Linked DNA regions of Homo sapiens: regions 1, 3, 4, 5 and 6 are each linked to region 2. Evidence: promoter capture Hi-C in human tissues and cell types (Jung and others, 2019). All regions are on one chromosome and are shown on one strand. Each heading gives the region's core, a stretch centred on a gene start or on the middle of the fragment in contact. The rest is flanking DNA. Distances are from core to core; before and after follow the strand shown. Region 1 holds the start of ZNF280B (zinc finger protein 280B). Region 2 holds the start of RAB36 (RAB36, member RAS oncogene family). Region 3 holds the start of SMARCB1 (SWI/SNF related BAF chromatin remodeling complex subunit B1). Region 4 has its middle 12 kb from the start of LL22NC03-63E9.3. Region 5 holds the start of ZNF70 (zinc finger protein 70). Region 6 holds the start of CHCHD10 (coiled-coil-helix-coiled-coil-helix domain containing 10).

Region 1 (2,781 bases), core at 133-2,632, 640 kb after region 2:
TAGGGTGGATGCGTCAGGTTATAAATAACCCTGTATCCTTTGTTTGGGGTACTCTCGTGGCAAAACTGCTGGCGAGTGTACCCTTTCTGCAGAAAGTGAAAATGGCCTTGCTGAGAAAATTAAATTTATGTTCAAGTGCTATTTCTTTGCGGCACCAGGGAACAAGCATTTCTAACAACTAGCAAAATTAGGACATATCTAATTGAAGGATAATGAACATATTACCAAGCGGACTGGTGAGACACAGTTAAACTGGTACTTAAAGGTAAATTTATAGCATTAAATACAAGAGAAACAAAAAAGTTTACAAGCAAACGAGGTAGGCATTTTTCTCCAAAAGTTGTAATGAGAAGTAACAGAACAAGCCTATGAAGTCACGAAGGAAGAAAATAACAGAATGGAAGAAATAGATAAAATAGATAAGAAAATAACATTATAGATTAATTAAACCAAAAGCGATTTACCCGCCCCCCAAAAAGATTGCTAAAATAGACTTTTGGCAGAATTGGTCAATTCAAAAAAAAAATCAAAGCTGCAAGTAAACTGAGTGGGCAAACTTTCTGTAAAGGGCCAGACAGTAAATATTTTAAGCTTTTCATACATGGTCTCTGGCAATTAATCAACTTTGCTGTTGAAGCAGGAAAACAGGCATAAATAATACCGAAAGGAATGGGCATGTTTGTTGTTCCAATAAAACTTTATTTATGGACACTGAATTTTGAATTTCATATAATTTTCACATGCCACAAAATATTCTCTTTTTAGCCATTAAAAAAACGTGAAATCGGTTCTTAGCTTGCTGCCAGCTGTACAAAAACAGGTGGCAGGCTGGATTCAACTGGCCCCAGATGTAACTAGAAGAGGACAGATGTTAGGTTCAGTTGTTTCCTCACAATCCCTTAAGCATGGATAGTCAACAAAGGGACCACACCTGAGAATTATAACAGCTGGCCTTCTGGTGGGCAAACCATCCCCTGATGGACTGGAAGCCTACCCCCCACCCCAAGCCCTGGCTGCGACAGCTCTGGAACCCTGACTGCCTGGGTGCCCCTCAGCTCTGGAACCCTGACTGCCTGGATGCTCCTCAGCTCTGGAACCCTGACTGCTTGGATACCCCCTCAGCTCTGGAACCCTGACTGCCTGGAACCGTGATCCGGAACCCAAGATCCTTTCAAGGCCTCAGGGGTATTGCTGCTGCCCTCCTCCTTCTCAATTTAACCCCGCGTCCAGCCGTCGCCACCAGGGGCGTCAGAGCGCGCGCATGCTCCTAGCTCGGAGCCGCGCCGATCTCGCGCCGGCACCTGGCAGCCAATCGCAGGTCTCCACTGGACGCGCGCGTGTGGAGGCGTGCGCGTCGGCGGCGCCGGGGGCCTGAGGAGGCGTAGTCGCCGCCGGCTGTGCCCCGGGAGCGCCTCCGGGGCTGGTGCGTGGCCGGCAGCTCGCGAACAGCAGCTGATCCGGACTGGTAAGGACGGGGGCGTGGCGCGGCTTCAGCGTTCCCTGAGGGGAGACTTGAGGGATTTCATGGCGAGCCGCAGCCCTGCGGGTCGCGACACCGCGCTTGGCCGTGCGCTGCCGGAGCGGCCTTTGCAATACAGCCGCTTTCTGTGGGGGAGTGCAGGGCAGAAGCAGGTCCCACGATCCCCTCACGCACACCCCCTTCCCTAATCTCAGCGGGCGCCACTTTTACATCAGCCTCCACTCCCTCACGCAGACGCCCCCACCCCCGGGCTGGGCCCGGGCCTCCTGGAGAAGGGGCCTTTCCTGGCTCCCAGTGCGCTCCCCTCCCCCATCGCCCCCGCGGGGTCTCTTTTGGCGCTCAATGTATTTAAAAATCTGAAAACTGCTTTGTAACCCCAGGCCCTCCCCAGTTCTGGAGACCTGTAGGCCCAGACCCCTTAAGGCATTTGAATGTATGGGTCTCTCTCCCCTACCGCAGCGTCTTGTCTCATTTACTGCGTCGCTGTCGGGACTCTTAATGCAGCCCCTGGGACCCTAATGGAGTCCCTCCCGTGAGAGCCAGGACCTCGGGTGATTTGCAGGCTTTTGATTTGGGCAGTTGGCGGGTGGGACGTTTTCCTTTGCTAAGGTAGGGTAGATTGGAGGAACAGATCTGGGGGAAAGGAGTTCAGTTCACTTATCTGGTTAAGTGTGAGATGATTGATAAACACCTAAATGGCAATGTCAGGCAGTGGGATCGAAAATATTCTTGTGACATGTAAGTAACTAATGCTTCTCTCTGGTTACCTCAAGGATGTGACCTTCTGCCTGGAATAGCTCAAGTTCTTAAAAGTTGCGTTGTAATAAACCTGAGGTAAGAAAAGAGAAGTCTCCCTGATGAGGACCAAAGTTGTATTTTCGTCCTTCAGTTTCGCTCCCCTGCCCTTTCCTTTGCTGAAACATAGCTGTTTGGTATTCAATATTTTACTGAGGGAATCTGAATGATGTGTTTGATTAGTTCAGGCCAATTGTTGATGTAGGTCATTCGGGAACCCTCTAAATTGCTTTGTTGAGAAAGGAGAGGGTGGTAGTGGCATTCTTTTACCACATCTCTTGAAAAAAAAAAAAAGAGCATCAGGGATGTTAAGTTATATAAAGCTGACTCCTTTTATCCTACCCTCTTTCTCAGCGACTGTATTTCATGAGGTAACTGCATGCAGCAGGACAGGGGAGGTCATCTGAAGTCATTGCATGCCAGTAGGTGAGATTATAGTGAATTGTGTGCCCAGCAATTTGTGATTACAGCTCAGTGAGACCCATTGTATTAGTTATCTATTGCCG
Region 2 (2,883 bases), core at 215-2,714:
ATTCACATCAAGGACTGTCTGGCTGCAAAATCCCAGCCCTTATAACCTCCAGGCCACACTGCTGCCCAGTGTCACCATTAACTTGCGGTCCCACCTTGGGCAGTCAGTGACCAGTCTCCCAGCTCCTCAAGGTAAATCTGACAATGGACAGACCTCCTTGATTCACCTGCTTTACTTCTAGGCATGAGTGTAGAGTGGGGAGAGCTGATGTGGCTGCAGGGCCAGGAGAGCACTGCAGACGTAATGACTCTCTACCTTAGGGAAGCTGGCGATGACACGGTCGCGGCTCACAGGGGGCCCCAAAGGTGTCAGGGAGGACCTCATTCTTCCACAGTCCTGTGGACCCAACCAGGAGAAAGACAGTTAAGGAGCTGTGCAAATACCTGGGGATTCACCCATGAGTTTCCACCTAACTTTTCATCAGATCCAGGCTGGGTGCAGTGGCTCATGCCTGTAATCCCAGCACTTTGGGAGGCCAAGGTGGGAGGATCACTTGGGCCCAGGAGGTTGAGACCAGCCTGGGCAACAAAGTGAAACCTCAGTCTCTACAAAAAAAAACCAAAAAAATTAGCAGGGCATGGTGGCCTGTGCCTGCAGTCCCAGCTACTTGGGAGGAAGGTGGGAGGAATGCTTGAGCCTGGGAGGTCAAGGGTGCAGTGAACCGTGAAGGTGCCACTGCACTCCAGCCTGGGTGATAGAGTAAGACCTTGTCTCAAGAATTATAAATAAAACCAGATCCAGGCTTCCCTCTCTGTCAGGAATATGGGGCAGAGGCCATTTCTCTCAATCTGCATACAGCAGGCAGCATGGTATGGGGGAACCAGGCCTGCCCCACCCTGCCTGGGAGTCAGAAGACCTGGGTCTCCCCTTGACAGGTGTCTACCAAGGAGGAGCTCCCCTCTGAGCTTACCTTACTGGGCTGTGAGGCATGGCACAGCTCAGGCAGTGGAAGTAGAGTGGGGAGGGGTCTCCTGCTCCCAGTCTGCAAAGGACGAAGGCTCTAGGTGGGCCTGGGGGCCTTAACTTTCAGCCAACTAGGCCTTTTCCCTGAAAACCCTCACTTCACCAGGCCTCTGACTCCTCGAGCCTCCTCAACAGCCCCTCTGTCTCCTTTTTCTGTCCGGACTCCTCTCCAGGCTGGGCTGGGGTGGTCCTGGCGGAGTCCGGTTGTCTTCCCGCATCTGACCTGGCTCTCCTCCACAACCAGCGCGGGCCTGGCCCAGAGTTTGCGCTCCGGAAATGAGGACGCCCCGGGGCCGCAGGCCGCTTTCAAGTTATAGGGGCGGGAAGTGGGCGCGGACGCTGTGCCCTCGCGGCCCTGGCCTCGGGATGTGCCAGCACGGGGTTGGGTGACCGGGAGGGTCGGACAGAGTGGGCGAGCTGACTCACCAGCGATGGCTGTGAAAGCTGGGGCTCCGCGCGGCCTGGTCCGCCTGAGCCAGCGGCGGCGATCACCATGGCAACGAGAGCCACGCGGGACCTGCGGGCTACACGAATCGTCGACGTCGTGGGCGGGGTCTGCGTTGGACTGGCAGCGGCGCGTCCAAGCATCCAGCTTGCACCGGCGATCACCATAGCAACGAGAACCTGCCTGGAGTCTGGGCGGGGCTGGCAGCAGAGAGACTCCTGGACACCCTGGAGAGCCGGAGATCACCATGACAACAAGGGCGGTGCTGGATGGGTGGGCGGTGGGCGGGGCTATGGAGGCCCGGGGGCGGAGCCTGAGCCCTGGGTGGGGCTGACCGTGGAGAGATTCGCGCAGGTTCTGGTGATCAGCTCGGCTGGGAGAGGTTGGGCGGTTATGGCATAAGAGCTCCTGATGTGGTATTGATGTTTAATTGGAGTCAAGCACCCTGCAGCTGCAGAAGATAGACCTGCCTACCATCTACTGACCTTAGTCTGCATAGTTCTGAATCCAGTGCTGTCTGAATATCATATGCCTGGCTTCTAGAGCTCACGGTACAAAATTAATTTCCTTAATAAAAAGCTGACCTGAGTCAGTGATTTCCTCTGAACTAGTTTCGGTTTGGAAAGTTAGCTGTTTTGGGCTAGATGGCCTCTTGTGGCCCTTATAAAACCGTGGAACCAGCTTCGAAGTCCGGGGTTCAGTTTGAGAACCTACTTAATTCAGCTCCTTAACTTTTCTGCATCACAATATGGAAGCCTTGGTACACAGATCTAACTCAGTCATCTTCAATTCAAAGCTAAGTGTGCTGGAGGCTGGTGTTTGATGTCTTTTTTTTTTTTTTTTAAAGAGATGGAGTCTTGCTATGTTGTCCAGGCTGGACTCGAACTCCTAGGCTCAAGGAATCCTCCCGCCTCAGCCTCCCCAGTCCTTGGGACTACAGGCAAGGGCCACCACACCTGGCTCTGTTTAATGTCTTTTAGTGAGTTTCACTGCTAAGGTTGAGGCTTAGGGGGTGAACTTAGGTGAGTTGTTCCACCTTCCGCACCTCAGTTTACTCAACTATAAAATAAACGCAACTATCTATTTCAATGGATCACCTGAGATGGTGAAAGTGCTTTTATACTGTAAAGCTTGATTCAAGTCCATTAACTATTCATTTGTCCTACATGTACTGAAAGCTTCCTGGTATATGCCTAGCACTGGGGAGACAAGGAAAGAGAACGGACATGGTGTCCACCCTCAGGGAAATTGGAGTCCACTGCGGGAAGCAGAGAAGTAAATAGAGAATTAGGGGAAGGGAGTGTGCCAATGGGATTTAGGAGAAGGGAAGATTAAGCTGTGGGGTCACTTACTAATTTGGATTTGGGGATTTGGCAGGAGCTAGAGATCACCCTGAACTCCTCCTTTAGCTGTTTTTTTTTTTTTTTTTTTTTTTTTTTTGAGATGGAGTCTCACTCTGTCGCCCAGGCTGGAGT
Region 3 (2,840 bases), core at 186-2,685, 640 kb before region 2:
ATATGATACTAAAAACTGCTATAAGGAGAAGAAACTCTTGGCATTTCATGATAGCTTTAATTCTCCAGGATTGGCACTTACTTCCTTACATGAGATTCTACTGCTTGACATTTGTACATCTGAACTGTATATCCATAATTTTTTTAAAAAGGTAACATATACTAGCTGGGGACTGCCTTTGGAGCAAAAAAGGCTAGTTTGAGACAATCTGTAAAAACCTAATATATGGCCGGGTGTGGTGGCTCATGCCTGTAATCCTAGCACTTTGGGAGACCCAGACGGGCAGACTGCTTGAGCCCAGGAGTTGGAGACCTGCCTGCGCAACATAGCCAGACCCTGTCTCTATAAAAAACAAAAAACAAGAACCTAATAGACTTGGAACAAACACCCATTCAAAGGCCAGTAGAGTTTTCCTGAAGTCAGTCATCCAGTTGATGCAACAAAATGCAGCCACTCTAGTTAAGGGTTAAACATCCTTAGGCTCTTTCCCCTGTAATAATTCAGAATCAGTTCACAGATATGGAAAGTGTCAATCGCTTCAGAACTGCTGAAAGATCTAGCTTAGGCATGGGGCCCTTATTCACCCAAAAGCAAACATCTTCCTCCAATCTGTTTCTTCACCGGTAAACAAAGGTCAAAAGACCTCCACTGCTCACCTAAGAGGCAACAAACACAATGGGGATGAGCCCTCACTAAGTCCAGGGTTTCCAGCCTGCCATTTGAGGTTCCCACAAGTAGCAATACGGGGAGGGGTGCACGTGAAATTTACGACATCTAAAAAGGGTCAAAGGCAGCAGTGCAGTCCCCCAAGCGTCGCAGGGGCTAACTCAATATCCCGTTTCTTTGCGTCTGACTGGAAACCAACCCAGCGCGGAACCACTGGGGCCCCTCGCGGCGCCAAAATCTTGGCAGCACTGAAGGCGGCGGACCTCGGCGAAATAAGTAAGGAAATCCCAGGTCGATGAGGGGGCGGGGGCCACACCCGACACGCCCACTAGGCCACGCCCCACAGCCCCGAGCGCGCGCGCGCGCGCCCGCCCGCCCCGATGAATGGAGACGCGCGCTCTCGGCGCATGGGCCCGCCCCGGGGCTCCCGCGGGGCCGAGCCCGGGGAGGGCGAGAACGCGCCCCGGGCTACCTCGGAGCCGATCATGTAGAACTCGCCGTCGTCCTCCAGCTGGAACTTCACGGGCTTCTGCCCGAAGGTCTTGCTCAGCGCCATCATCATCATTGCGGCGGCAGAGGCGGGCGGCCGGAGCCGGGCTGCGAGGGATCAGGAGGGCTGGGGCGGGGCCGGGGCGTGCTGGGCCGAGGGAAACCGAAGCCGGAAGGCGAAATGCGGACCGGGCCGGGTACTGGCGCCTCAGCCGGGCTCCTCAGCCGCCGCCGCCGCCGCAGACGACGACCAGGCCGCCCTCAGTGCGCAGGCGCTGGCGTTGACGCTGACGCGCGCGCCGCCGCTCAAACAAAAGGCCGGGCGCGCCTCCGCGGACCCCTTAAAGGAGCCACGACTAATTTCTCTTTCTCCCAGGCTGCCTCCCAAGTCGTGGTGTAGAGGACTTCTCACGGACAAAAATAGCCAATGAGGTCCTGACTCAAGCAGTGGCTTTCCCAGTCTTACAGCCAGGACTGGAACTGAGCCCAGGGGAAAAGCAACGAAGTGAGGCCTGAAGGAGGAGGACCTAGTATCTGGAAGCCTGGGTGGTCTGGGCATGCTTTGGGACCCCAATCTCGTGCCTTAGCTTCCCCACCCCTAAAACGCAGTGCAGCTGAGCAGATAGGCAGGCCCCTAGGAAGAGATATCCCAGTTCCGGGCCTACGGCTGTCCCTGCAGCTGTGGAGGTGGGCAAAATGACAACAGCGGATGAGGCTTGGCAATGTTCAAAGGCCCAGGTGGTATTTGGTTTGGCTGGTGCATCAGATGAGCGTTGGAAGGGAGAGACACCTTCCACCTTCTCCATTCCTCTCTTAGCCTACACTCTGCTTAACCGAGCCCTGCAGTGGGGAGTGAAACCAGGCAGCCCAGCCCTGTGGCTCTGCCTCTTGGCTCTTACAGCGCGAAGCTAGTGAAACTAATGAAAGTCTGAAAGCAATCATGATTGAATAATGCAGGGAGTAAAACAGTGGCCCACTACTGATGATTTCACACCGTTCAATCTAATGAAATTGCAGCTGTGGCTGGGCTCAGCGGCTCATGCCTGTAATCCCAACTCTTTTTTTTTTTTTTGAGGCTGGAGTCTCCTGCCTCAGCCTCCCAAGTAGCTGGGACTACAGGCACCCGCCACCACGCCCAGCTAATTTTTTGTATTTTTAGTAGAGACAGGGTTTCACCATGTTAGCCAGGATGGTCTCGATCTCCTGACCTCGTGATCCGCCCCCCTCGGCCTCCCAAAGTGCTGGGATTACAGGTGTGAGCCACTGCGCCCGGCCTTGTAATCCCAACTCTTTAGGAGGCCAAGGCAGGGAGGATCACTTGAAGCCAGGAGTTTGAGACCAGACTGGACAAGACAGCAAGACCCTGTCTCTACAAAAATTCTAAAATAAATAAGCTGGGTGTGGCATGGCGGTGTGCACCTGTAGCCCCAGCTACTTGGGAAGTGGAGAGGGGAAGATCCCTTGAGCCCAGGAGTTCAAGGTTATAGTGAGCTGATTGCACCACTGCACTGCAGCCTGGGCAACAAAGGGAGACCCTGCCTCTCTTAAAAAAAAAAAAAATGCAACTATGCTATTACGAAGACACACATGGGGCTGGAAGGTAGGGCAAGGAGACACTGGAGAGTTGGGAAGGGCAGTGACTGAAGTTGCTTTGTTCTGTATCCTCACAGTGGTGGGAAACCAAA
Region 4 (2,700 bases), core at 183-2,682, 570 kb after region 2:
TCCATCTTTGGAGTCACAAATCAGAGCAGTTCACTAACCTGGAGCGAGGTCTTCCACCCATGGGATGATGCATGATTTCCGTATGTTTTTCTACAAGGACTTGGAAGCAGCGTATAGTAGATTGAATGGCTCCTCCAAAGATACCAGGTGTAATCATTTAGAGGTCTTTGTTTTTAGTCACTCAGTTTATGGTTTGGTCATTTATCACAGCAACTACAGTGAATTAATCCTTGGGGTAAATATCCTACTCTGGAATGACTAGACATTGCAAGTTAGGCTCTTTCAGAAACTTGTTAATGGGGTTTGACCCTTCTTCCTTACTTCCCTCTGAAAATATAGATTAAAAGCTAGGCCGGAAGCTATGGCTCATACCTGTAATCCCAGCAATTTGGGAGGCTGAGGCAGGAGGATCACTTGAGGCCAGGAGTTCGAGACTACTCTGGATAACCTAGTGAGACCCCCCCATCTCAACAAAAAAATAAAAAATAAGCTAAAAAGATTAGAAGCTGTCCCTTTCTTGGTGGCTTATGCATCTTGCCCCGAGAGGTGCCATGCTATACTGACTGACTCCATCATTCAATGTCAGGTGCCTTGCTGCCACTTCATCTTTTGCCACACACCTGGCTCCTATGCTTAAGCCCTGACAATGTGACACTATCACTGCATGGTCCTTCCATCCGTATTGCTATCAACTTCCTTACCAGCTTCCCCTGCTGGCCTGGTCTAGAGAACTACCCACTGAGTTTCTCAAGGATGCTGGATTTCTCTCACCAGTGCACCGCTTATCAATCAATTACAGACTGCAGTCCCCAGGCCCTCCTGAGAATTCTCTCACTTGGGGAGATGTCCATGAGTACCTGGTATTGCCTTTCCAGCTAAGCACTCTCAGAACCCTTCTCTCTCTCTCTCTCTTTCTTTCTTTTCTTTTCTTTCCTTCTTTCCCTCTCTCTCTCCCTTCCTTCCTTTCTTTCTCCCTCTCTCTTTCTTTCTTTTCTTTTTTCTTTCTCTCCTTCCTTCCCTTCCTCCCTTCCCTTCCCCTTCCTTCCTTTCTTTCTCTCCATCTCTCTCTTTCTTTCTCTCTCTCTCTCTCTTTCTTTTTTTCAGGGTCTCACTCTGTCGCCCAGGCTGGAACAGCTGGCTACAGTCTTAAACTCCCCAGGCTGAAGCAATCCTCCTACCTCAGACTCCCTAGTAGCTGGGACTACAGGAGTGTGCCACCATGCCTGACTAATTTTTTTTAATCTTTTGTACAGACAGGGTCTCACTATATTGCCCAGGCTGGTCTTGATCTCCTAGCCTCAAGCCATTCTCCCACAGTGGCCTCCCAAGGTGCCGGGATTACAGGCATAAGCCACCACACCTGGCCTCCCAGGACCTTTTGATTCCTCTCCCACCATCTGCCACAGCACATCTGGCATTATGACCTTGCTTGGTACGGACCATTGCTTTCTCTGTCCTCCTAAGGGCAATCCTTGCGGCGGGCTTGCGGAATGCCTCAATGTCTTTGCTAGGGGGTTAAAGCCTGCGTCCCAGGAGAGTGCTTCCAGCAGATAAACCCTCCCCAATCCAATCTTAGGTTTTGCACTTTGATCTTACACCCTCAGAATCCAGCCCCATACACACTCGCCTGGGGCCCACTGCACGTGTTGGCTGGTTCTGGAGCTCCTTAGTTCTGCAGCAGGTCTATCACATTCCTTGCCAGGTTTCTTTGGGACTCAATTCTAGTTATTGGTCCATTGGTCTTAATAGGAGGTGGTGGCAGATTTCTGGGGACACTTGTGGTGGTGGATACAATCTCACAGGTCAGAGGTCTCTGCATCATCTTCAGGCAAAAGGAAGGGAGACATGGGTTTCAATGAGTAAGGGAGGGCCACTTCTGCAGGTTTGGAAAATTCAAGGACATCAAGATTTTCAGGTGCGTGAATCCAGATGGCCTCGTCCCGTGACTCAGTACCCCACTGTTACCCTGTCAGGGTCCCGATGGTCTGCTACACTTAGGATTAAGTTCTGGGCTTCAGTCTTCCCTGCCCTCTGTCCAAGCAGATGAGAGGGCAGGGAAGGCTCAGGCCCAGAGGAAGAGTGCAAGCCAAAAAGCTTTTCCAGCCCAAGATGAAGCTTTTTTTCAGCCCAGGGGGAAGCTTTTTTTTTCAGCCCAGGAGGAAGCTTTTTGGCTTGCGCTCTGATGGAGTTAAAAATGTACCAGTCTATGGATTAACAAAATGTGGCACATATACACCATGGAACACTATGCAGCCATAAAAATTGATGAGTTCATGTCCTTTGTAGGGACATGGATGAAGCTGGAAACCATCATTCTCAGCAAACTGTCACAAGGACGAAAAACCAAACACCGCATGTTCTCACTCATAGGTGGGAATTGAACAATGAGAACACATGGACACAGTGGGGGAACATCACACACCGGGGCCTGTTGTGGGGGGAGGGGGGAGGGATAGCATTAGGAGATATACCTGGTGTTAAATGACGAGTTGATGGGTGCAGCACACCAACATGGCACATGTATACATATGTAACTAACCTGCATGTTGTGCACATGTACCCTAAAACTTAAAGTATAATAAAAAAAAAAAGAAAAGAAATAAAAAAGTACCGGTCTAGCAAATTGACTATTTAAGTAAAAGGCACTTGAAAACACCAGTTGCAAAAAGATCATTCTGCTGTTTTCTGTTTCTTAAAAGC
Region 5 (2,700 bases), core at 171-2,670, 610 kb before region 2:
TGTGACCTGAGGAGCCGGAGGGAGAAAAAGGAACCAGCCCTTGCCGCCCCCAACTCTGCATGGCTGGTTATGGTCCAAGGGTTATGGCTCTAGGGTGGCTGGTCCCCATGGAGCTCAGGCTGTTGGCTTGGGGAGGGGCAGCCACTGCCTACCCCTTGGAGTCTGTGCCCAAGGCCCGACAGAGCATTAATGGGGCAGGAAGGCAGGTGTGTGTGGGTAGCATTGGAGGCACTCGAGCGCCAAGGCTGAGGGTGCTGAAGGCAGGTGGGCGGCTGGGGCAGAATCCTTTTTCCCAGGGACAGTGTGTTCTCCTGATGTCCTGTGATTGGGCCAAGGTCTGCGGAGGGAAGCTCTCCCACAAGCTGGGCAGCTGCACCTGAGGGGGGGGTGTCATGGGCAGAACACTGGGTGGAGGGGCCAGTCTTGCCATCAGCAGCAAGGAGGGGGCGGAGATTCCTTTTCTTTTTTTTTTTTTTGTTTTTTGAGATGGAGTCTCGCTCTGTCGCCCAGGCTGGAGTGCAATGGCACTATCTTGGCTCACTGCAACCTCCGCCTCTCAGGGTCAAACGATTCTCCTGTCTCAGTAGCTGGGATTACAGGCGCTTGTCACCACTCCCGGATAATTTTTAGTAGAAACAGGGTTTCACCATGTTGGTCTGGCTGAGTCTCGAACTCCTGACCTCGTGATCCACCCGCCTCCGCCTCCCAAAATGCTGGGATTAAAGGCGTGAGCCACCGCGCCCGGCCAAGGGGGCGGCCATTTCAAGAACACATTCCTCTTCCCTCCCGGTGCGCCTGAGAGGAGGCGCTTCATGTCGAAGTCAGCCCTGGGATGCAGAGAGTTGGGGGGCTCAGGGTCCTGGGATGGTCTCGCAGACACTCCTAGTTCTTCGCCTGCCCCTTCTCATCTCTATTTCTGTGGGGGCGGGGAGGGCAGACAGGAACAGGGCTACCCTTGAAGCAGGTTGGGGGAGGGGGATCCTAACAGGACCCCGGTGCCTGTGGACAGTGACAGGGTCGACAGCTCTGGGGCTCCACTCTCCTTTCCCTGAAGACCCCAGCTGCCTCAGTGGCTTCTGGCTTGCACCCAGCACCAGCGCAGATGCCCCGAGTGCCGGCGGCTCGAGGTCGGCCCGCCCGTCCGGACCTGTTTCCTCCTCTGCTCTCCTGCCAACGCCTGCCCATCTCTGTTTCCCCCACGTCCAGCACGCGCTTCGGGGACGGCCAGAGCCACCATGCCGACTGGAGAGACTCTCCTGATTCGGGTCCTTGTGTCCCGGGGCCCGGGCGGCTTCGCGCGGCGACAACCGGCGCGGTGGGACCACCGAGACGCCGGGACCTCCGCGCGGCCTAGAGTGGTCCCGGAAGTGCCCGCGGGCCGGGGGCGGGGCTCTGGGTGCTCGGGCGGCCGCGGGCTCCGCGTCAGCAGCTGCTGTGGAGCCAGGCAGCGTCGGCCGCGTCGGCCGCGGGTTGGAGCAGCTCAGGTGCGGCCCCGCCCCGCCCGCCTGCGGCCCCGCCCCGGCCCAGGTGAGCTGCCCCGCCCCGGCCCAGGTGAGTGGCCCCGCGTCCGCCGGTGTGACCTGAGTCCGCCTGACCACCTGTCCCTCCGGTGGCCCTGGGTGTGCGTGTCCCCAATCGCGGGGAAGCCTGTAGGGGCGCCACGTCGCCGCCTGGGCAGCGTGTGCGGGTCCGTGGCAACTCTTGGGCCCCCAGCCAGGAAACCTTGACTGCACTAAGAGTTTGCAGGGTGCCCAGGCCCTAGGGACTCTCTGGAGGATGGGATGACAGATGCAGGAGGACCCGGAGAAGGCCCCGACAGAGGTGGGAAGCATGGAGTTCCAGATCTTTGCATTTTCGGTCCAAAAACACTTATCATGTTGTGGGAGACAGATAAAGGGTTGCCAACTTTTTTCTGAGTGGAGACTTCAGGGTGTAGGGGCTATATAGTGGGAATGGAAAACCTCTACGGAGGGAAGTTTGAGAACACCAGGACTTAATGGGTGGGCGGAGGAAGAGTTGCAATCTAAAGATATCAAGAAAGAGAACTTGGAAGCCATGAAAATTGGGAAGAAAGCGAGGGTGGGGATGGGGTTGGGGGGTAGCTCAAAGCTTTCATGCACCTAGGTAGGCAATGTGGGCGGGTGAAGGGATATTGTCACATCTTCGTTTTTCAAGAGAAAGCCAGAAACCTACTGAGTTTTAAATATTGGTAACTAAGGAAAATGAACAGGAAAAGCCAAACTCTTCGAGAGCCAAACATAACATAGCAGGATCTTCAGGCTGCCAATTTGCAACCTCTGAAATGAAGGGTTTTGAGAAGGAGGTATTGGAGAGCAGTGCCAGATGGGGTGGGAAGGTGAAGACCGAGAAGAGAGGGATTGGCAATAAGGAGGTCATAGAATGCCAGAGCTGAGGTCCCAGCTGAAATCGGAAACTCGAAATTTGTCGTGGTGCCATACATAGTTGTATGATTTTTCTTGGCAACATTTAACAACTTAGGAGGAACTGGCCGAGAAGACTGGGACTTAGCGGCTAGTTGCAGCCGGACGAGGAGGTGAGGAGCATGGTGCTAGAGCGTGAGAGTTGAAGTGATGCGCATAGTATGGAGAGTCTAAGCTGGATGGAGAAGGGGTGGAGCTAGAAAAGGAGAACTACAGTAAAAATGGCTTGGATTTCATGAGGTCGAAAAGCACAAATTGA
Region 6 (2,850 bases), core at 19-2,518, 620 kb before region 2:
GGACAGTCCCTACCTTCCCCCACCTAGGAGTAATAATATGACCACTGCAAAGTCACCCAGAAAAGACCATAAAAACCTCAAGCTCAGCCGGGCGCGATGGCTCATGCTTGTAATCCCAGCACTTTGGGAGGCTGAGGTAGGAGGATCATGAGCTCAGGAGTTGGAGACCAGTTTGGCCAACATGGTGAAACCCCGTCTCTACTAAAAATACAAAAATTAGCCAGGTGTGGTGGCACGAGCCTGTAGTCCCAGCTACTCAGGAGGCTGAGGCAGGAGAATTGCTTGAATCCGGGAGGTGGAGGTTGCAGTGAGCCGAGATCGCCACTGCACTCCAACCTGGGCGACAGAGCAAGGCTCCGTGTCAAAAAAAAAAAAGTAAAAAGTAAAATTAAAACCTCAAGTTCTCGAAGAGCAGGAAAGCATTCTAAATCCGCGCTCCAGCTCACCTGGCCTGGAACGAAGCTGCTAAAATTGCGAGGCCGCAGGCTTCAAACTTGCGCTAGATTTGACCGAGCCGGGCAAATGCTCCTAGGCCTTTGGGATAGACACGCTGCTCGGATGTCGCGTAAAGGCCGTTAGTGTCGGGGGTTGCACTCGCGGGGCCAGGGACTAGGTGGGGGCGGTCGGGCCGGCCCGGGGAATCCGGTGGGGTTCAGGGCCGCGCGGGGGGCCTCATATCCCCCGCGGGCACTGCGTAAGGCTGCCAGCATTGGCAGCGCATTTTGGCCAACAGTCGAAGACGGGTTGGGACGCCCCCTCGTGGGAGTTCTGGGGATGGGTTGCTCCAGGCCTTCCCCAGGGCCGCGCTTCACTTCCCTAGGCCACCGGAGACTCCCAGGCCACGCGGTGGTCAGCAGACCCTGTCTGGAGGGAGGGGACAGACAGCCGAGTCCGGGAGGGGGCAGAGAGCGGAGTCCAGCCTGGAGCCTCGCGTCCCCTTCCCAGCTGGCCCCATCCCGTCGCCTCCCCGTCTCCTCTCCCCTCCAGGGCTCGCAACAACCCCCAACTCCGCTCCCTGCCCTCTGCGGTGGTCCTAACAGAAGGCACTGTCGCCCTCCTTAAGCCCTCGGCGCTTTGCGACACTGGCCCCTGTCCCCAGAACCCGCACAGCCTGCCAGGCGCAGGGAGGGAGCAGGGTCCCATTTCCAGCCGAGACCCGGAGCTGCTGGAAGGGAGATGTCCGGAGGACGGGAGAAGGGGGATAGGGTTGGGGGCAGTGCCGCCTCCCGCTGGGGGCGTGTTCCTGAGGCCCCGCCCGGGGCCCCGCCTTTTTTGCGCCGGCTGTGACAAGCGCTGCGGCATTTGTCCCCGCGACAGCACCGCTGCCGCCGTCTCTAAGGTCGCCCGGGTCCCACCGCCGCCACCATGCCTCGGGGAAGCCGCAGCGCGGCCTCCCGGCCAGCCAGGTGTGAGGGGGACAAGGGCCCTGTGGGGAGGGGGTTAGGGAAGTGTGGGCACTCCCCTAAGGGCGTCCGCAGAGTGACCTTGGCTGCTGCTGCGCCATCTTGGCGGGGGGAGGGGTGGGGGTGCAGCACCCACGTGTGGAGACGTGGGTCGTCCATCTCTCCGGGGGTCGTTTCCAGGAGCTGCAGCCCTCCAGCCTGGGGTCTGGCCAGGATTAACCCTGCTTCCTCCCACCCCCGCAGCCGCCCAGCCGCGCCCTCTGCCCACCCGCCCGCGCACCCACCGCCCTCGGCAGCCGCCCCAGCCCCCGCCCCTTCGGGCCAGCCGGGGCTCATGGCTCAGATGGCGACCACGGCCGCAGGGGTAGCCGTGGGCTCGGCTGTGGGACACGTCATGGGCAGCGCCCTGACCGGAGCCTTCAGCGGGGGGAGCTCGGAGCCCTCCCAGCCTGCTGTCCAGCAGGTGAGCAGCGAGTCCAAGAGAAACTGAGGCAGGATTATCTCGAGGCCACACAGGGAGCTGCCCAAGTGTCCAGTGAGGAGTGTCCGCGTGTATTCACCATTGCTTCAGCCCAGGACTCTGCCCGGGAAGGGTCCTAGTCCACTGGTCTTGAGTTCACTGTCACTTAGAGGCAGGCTTCCCGGCCTCTCCCTTGAGGCCAGGGTCCCTAAGCTCCCAGGGAGAGACACCAACCAGCCCTTTAAAGATGGGAAACCCAGGCCCTGAGGGCTCAGAGACTCGCCCAAGGTCACCTCACCCTAGCAGAGGGGAGGGATGTTGGATTTCCTGAGCCCCTGTTCTCCCCACACCCAGGTCTGGGCACTGTGGCCGCTGGGCGCAAGGGCGAAGGGGAGCCACTTCCCTGATGACCTTTCCCCTGCTAGGAACCCCACCGCCGTAAGCCAAATGTGGCTTTGTGGCTAGGTCAGGGGTCATGAGGATTAGTGTAGCTGAGCCAGGAAGGTGCTAGAACTTGTGGGGGTGGGGCTCATACTCTGAGAGTACAGGCAGAGTACTGGGCTTTCCTAGAGCCTTCTCCTCCCTCTCCTGCACCCGCCCAAAGTGCCCATTAGAAGGCAGCAGAGGCCAGGCGCAGTGGCTCATGCCTGTAATCCCAGCACTTTGGGAGGCCAAGGCGGGTGGATCATGAGTTCAGGAGTTCGATACCAGCCTGGCCAACATAGTGAAACCCCCTCTCTACTAAAAATACAAAAAATTTGTTGGGCATGGTGGCGGGCGCCTGTAGCCCCAGCTACTTGGGAGGCCAAGGCAGGACAACCACTTGAACCCGGGAGGCGGAGGTTGCAGTGAGCCGAGACTGCGCCGCTGCACTCCACTCTAGGTGACAGAGTGAGACTCTGTCTCAAAAAAAAAAAAAAAAAAAGGCAGCAGAAACATGCTGTCTGTAGCCGCCTCTGCTGCTGGATCACTCAGCCTGCCTAGGAC

The links. The method cuts DNA at HindIII sites, captures the fragments that hold promoters and counts their contacts. A contact is called where the count stands out against the background at its distance.
Region 1: a contact is called between the fragment with the promoter of ZNF280B here and the fragment with the promoter of RAB36 in region 2, in 5 of the 25 tissues and cell types used here (H1 embryonic stem cells, dorsolateral prefrontal cortex, heart left ventricle and 2 more).
Region 3: a contact is called between the fragment with the promoter of SMARCB1 here and the fragment with the promoter of RAB36 in region 2, in 6 of the 25 tissues and cell types used here (H1 embryonic stem cells, dorsolateral prefrontal cortex, heart left ventricle and 3 more).
Region 4: a contact is called between a fragment that was not itself captured here and the fragment with the promoter of RAB36 in region 2, in 3 of the 25 tissues and cell types used here (H1 embryonic stem cells, dorsolateral prefrontal cortex and lymphoblastoid cells).
Region 5: the fragment with the promoter of ZNF70 here is called in contact with the fragment with the promoter of RAB36 in region 2 in 4 of the 25 tissues and cell types used here (dorsolateral prefrontal cortex, lymphoblastoid cells, spleen and 1 more).
Region 6: a contact is called between the fragment with the promoter of CHCHD10 here and the fragment with the promoter of RAB36 in region 2, in 2 of the 25 tissues and cell types used here (adrenal gland and dorsolateral prefrontal cortex).

Annotation. Positions count from the first base shown.
Region 1 is chr22:22,507,343-22,510,123 of GRCh38, reverse strand. ZNF280B (zinc finger protein 280B) reads left to right here and starts at 1,382. Exons shown (of 4, transcript NM_080764.4): 1 at 1,382-1,465; 2 at 2,254-2,314. It also overlaps IGL. The HindIII fragment of the contact is 18,670 bases long and covers 1-2,781 here.
Region 2 is chr22:23,144,058-23,146,940 of GRCh38, reverse strand. RAB36 (RAB36, member RAS oncogene family) reads right to left here and starts at 1,464. Exons shown (of 11, transcript NM_004914.5): 1 at 1,390-1,464; 2 at 256-336. The coding sequence starts at 324. It also overlaps a transcript of RSPH14 not described here. RefSeq lists a silencer at 1,642-1,711. The HindIII fragment of the contact is 15,551 bases long and covers 1-2,883 here.
Region 3 is chr22:23,785,561-23,788,400 of GRCh38, reverse strand. It overlaps SMARCB1 (SWI/SNF related BAF chromatin remodeling complex subunit B1), which reads right to left and starts at 1,435. Exons shown (of 9, transcript NM_003073.5): 1 at 1,139-1,435. The coding sequence starts at 1,231. The HindIII fragment of the contact is 20,978 bases long and covers 1-2,840 here.
Region 4 is chr22:22,570,299-22,572,998 of GRCh38, reverse strand. It overlaps IGL. Among named protein-coding and RNA genes, the nearest start is that of LL22NC03-63E9.3, 12 kb to the right of the region's middle. The HindIII fragment of the contact is 4,847 bases long and covers 1-2,700 here.
Region 5 is chr22:23,749,832-23,752,531 of GRCh38, reverse strand. It overlaps ZNF70 (zinc finger protein 70), which reads left to right and starts at 1,420. Exons shown (of 2, transcript NM_021916.4): 1 at 1,420-1,821. RefSeq lists enhancers at 145-204, 1,045-1,104, 987-1,662 and a silencer at 1,255-1,704. The HindIII fragment of the contact is 11,413 bases long and covers 1-2,700 here.
Region 6 is chr22:23,766,390-23,769,239 of GRCh38, reverse strand. CHCHD10 (coiled-coil-helix-coiled-coil-helix domain containing 10) reads left to right here and starts at 1,268. Exons shown (of 4, transcript NM_213720.3): 1 at 1,268-1,406; 2 at 1,647-1,866. The coding sequence starts at 1,366. LOC107985577 (a long non-coding RNA gene) reads right to left here and starts at 1,014. Exons shown (of 3, transcript XR_007068022.1): 1 at 447-1,014. RefSeq lists an enhancer at 2,131-2,850. The HindIII fragment of the contact is 13,382 bases long and covers 1-2,850 here.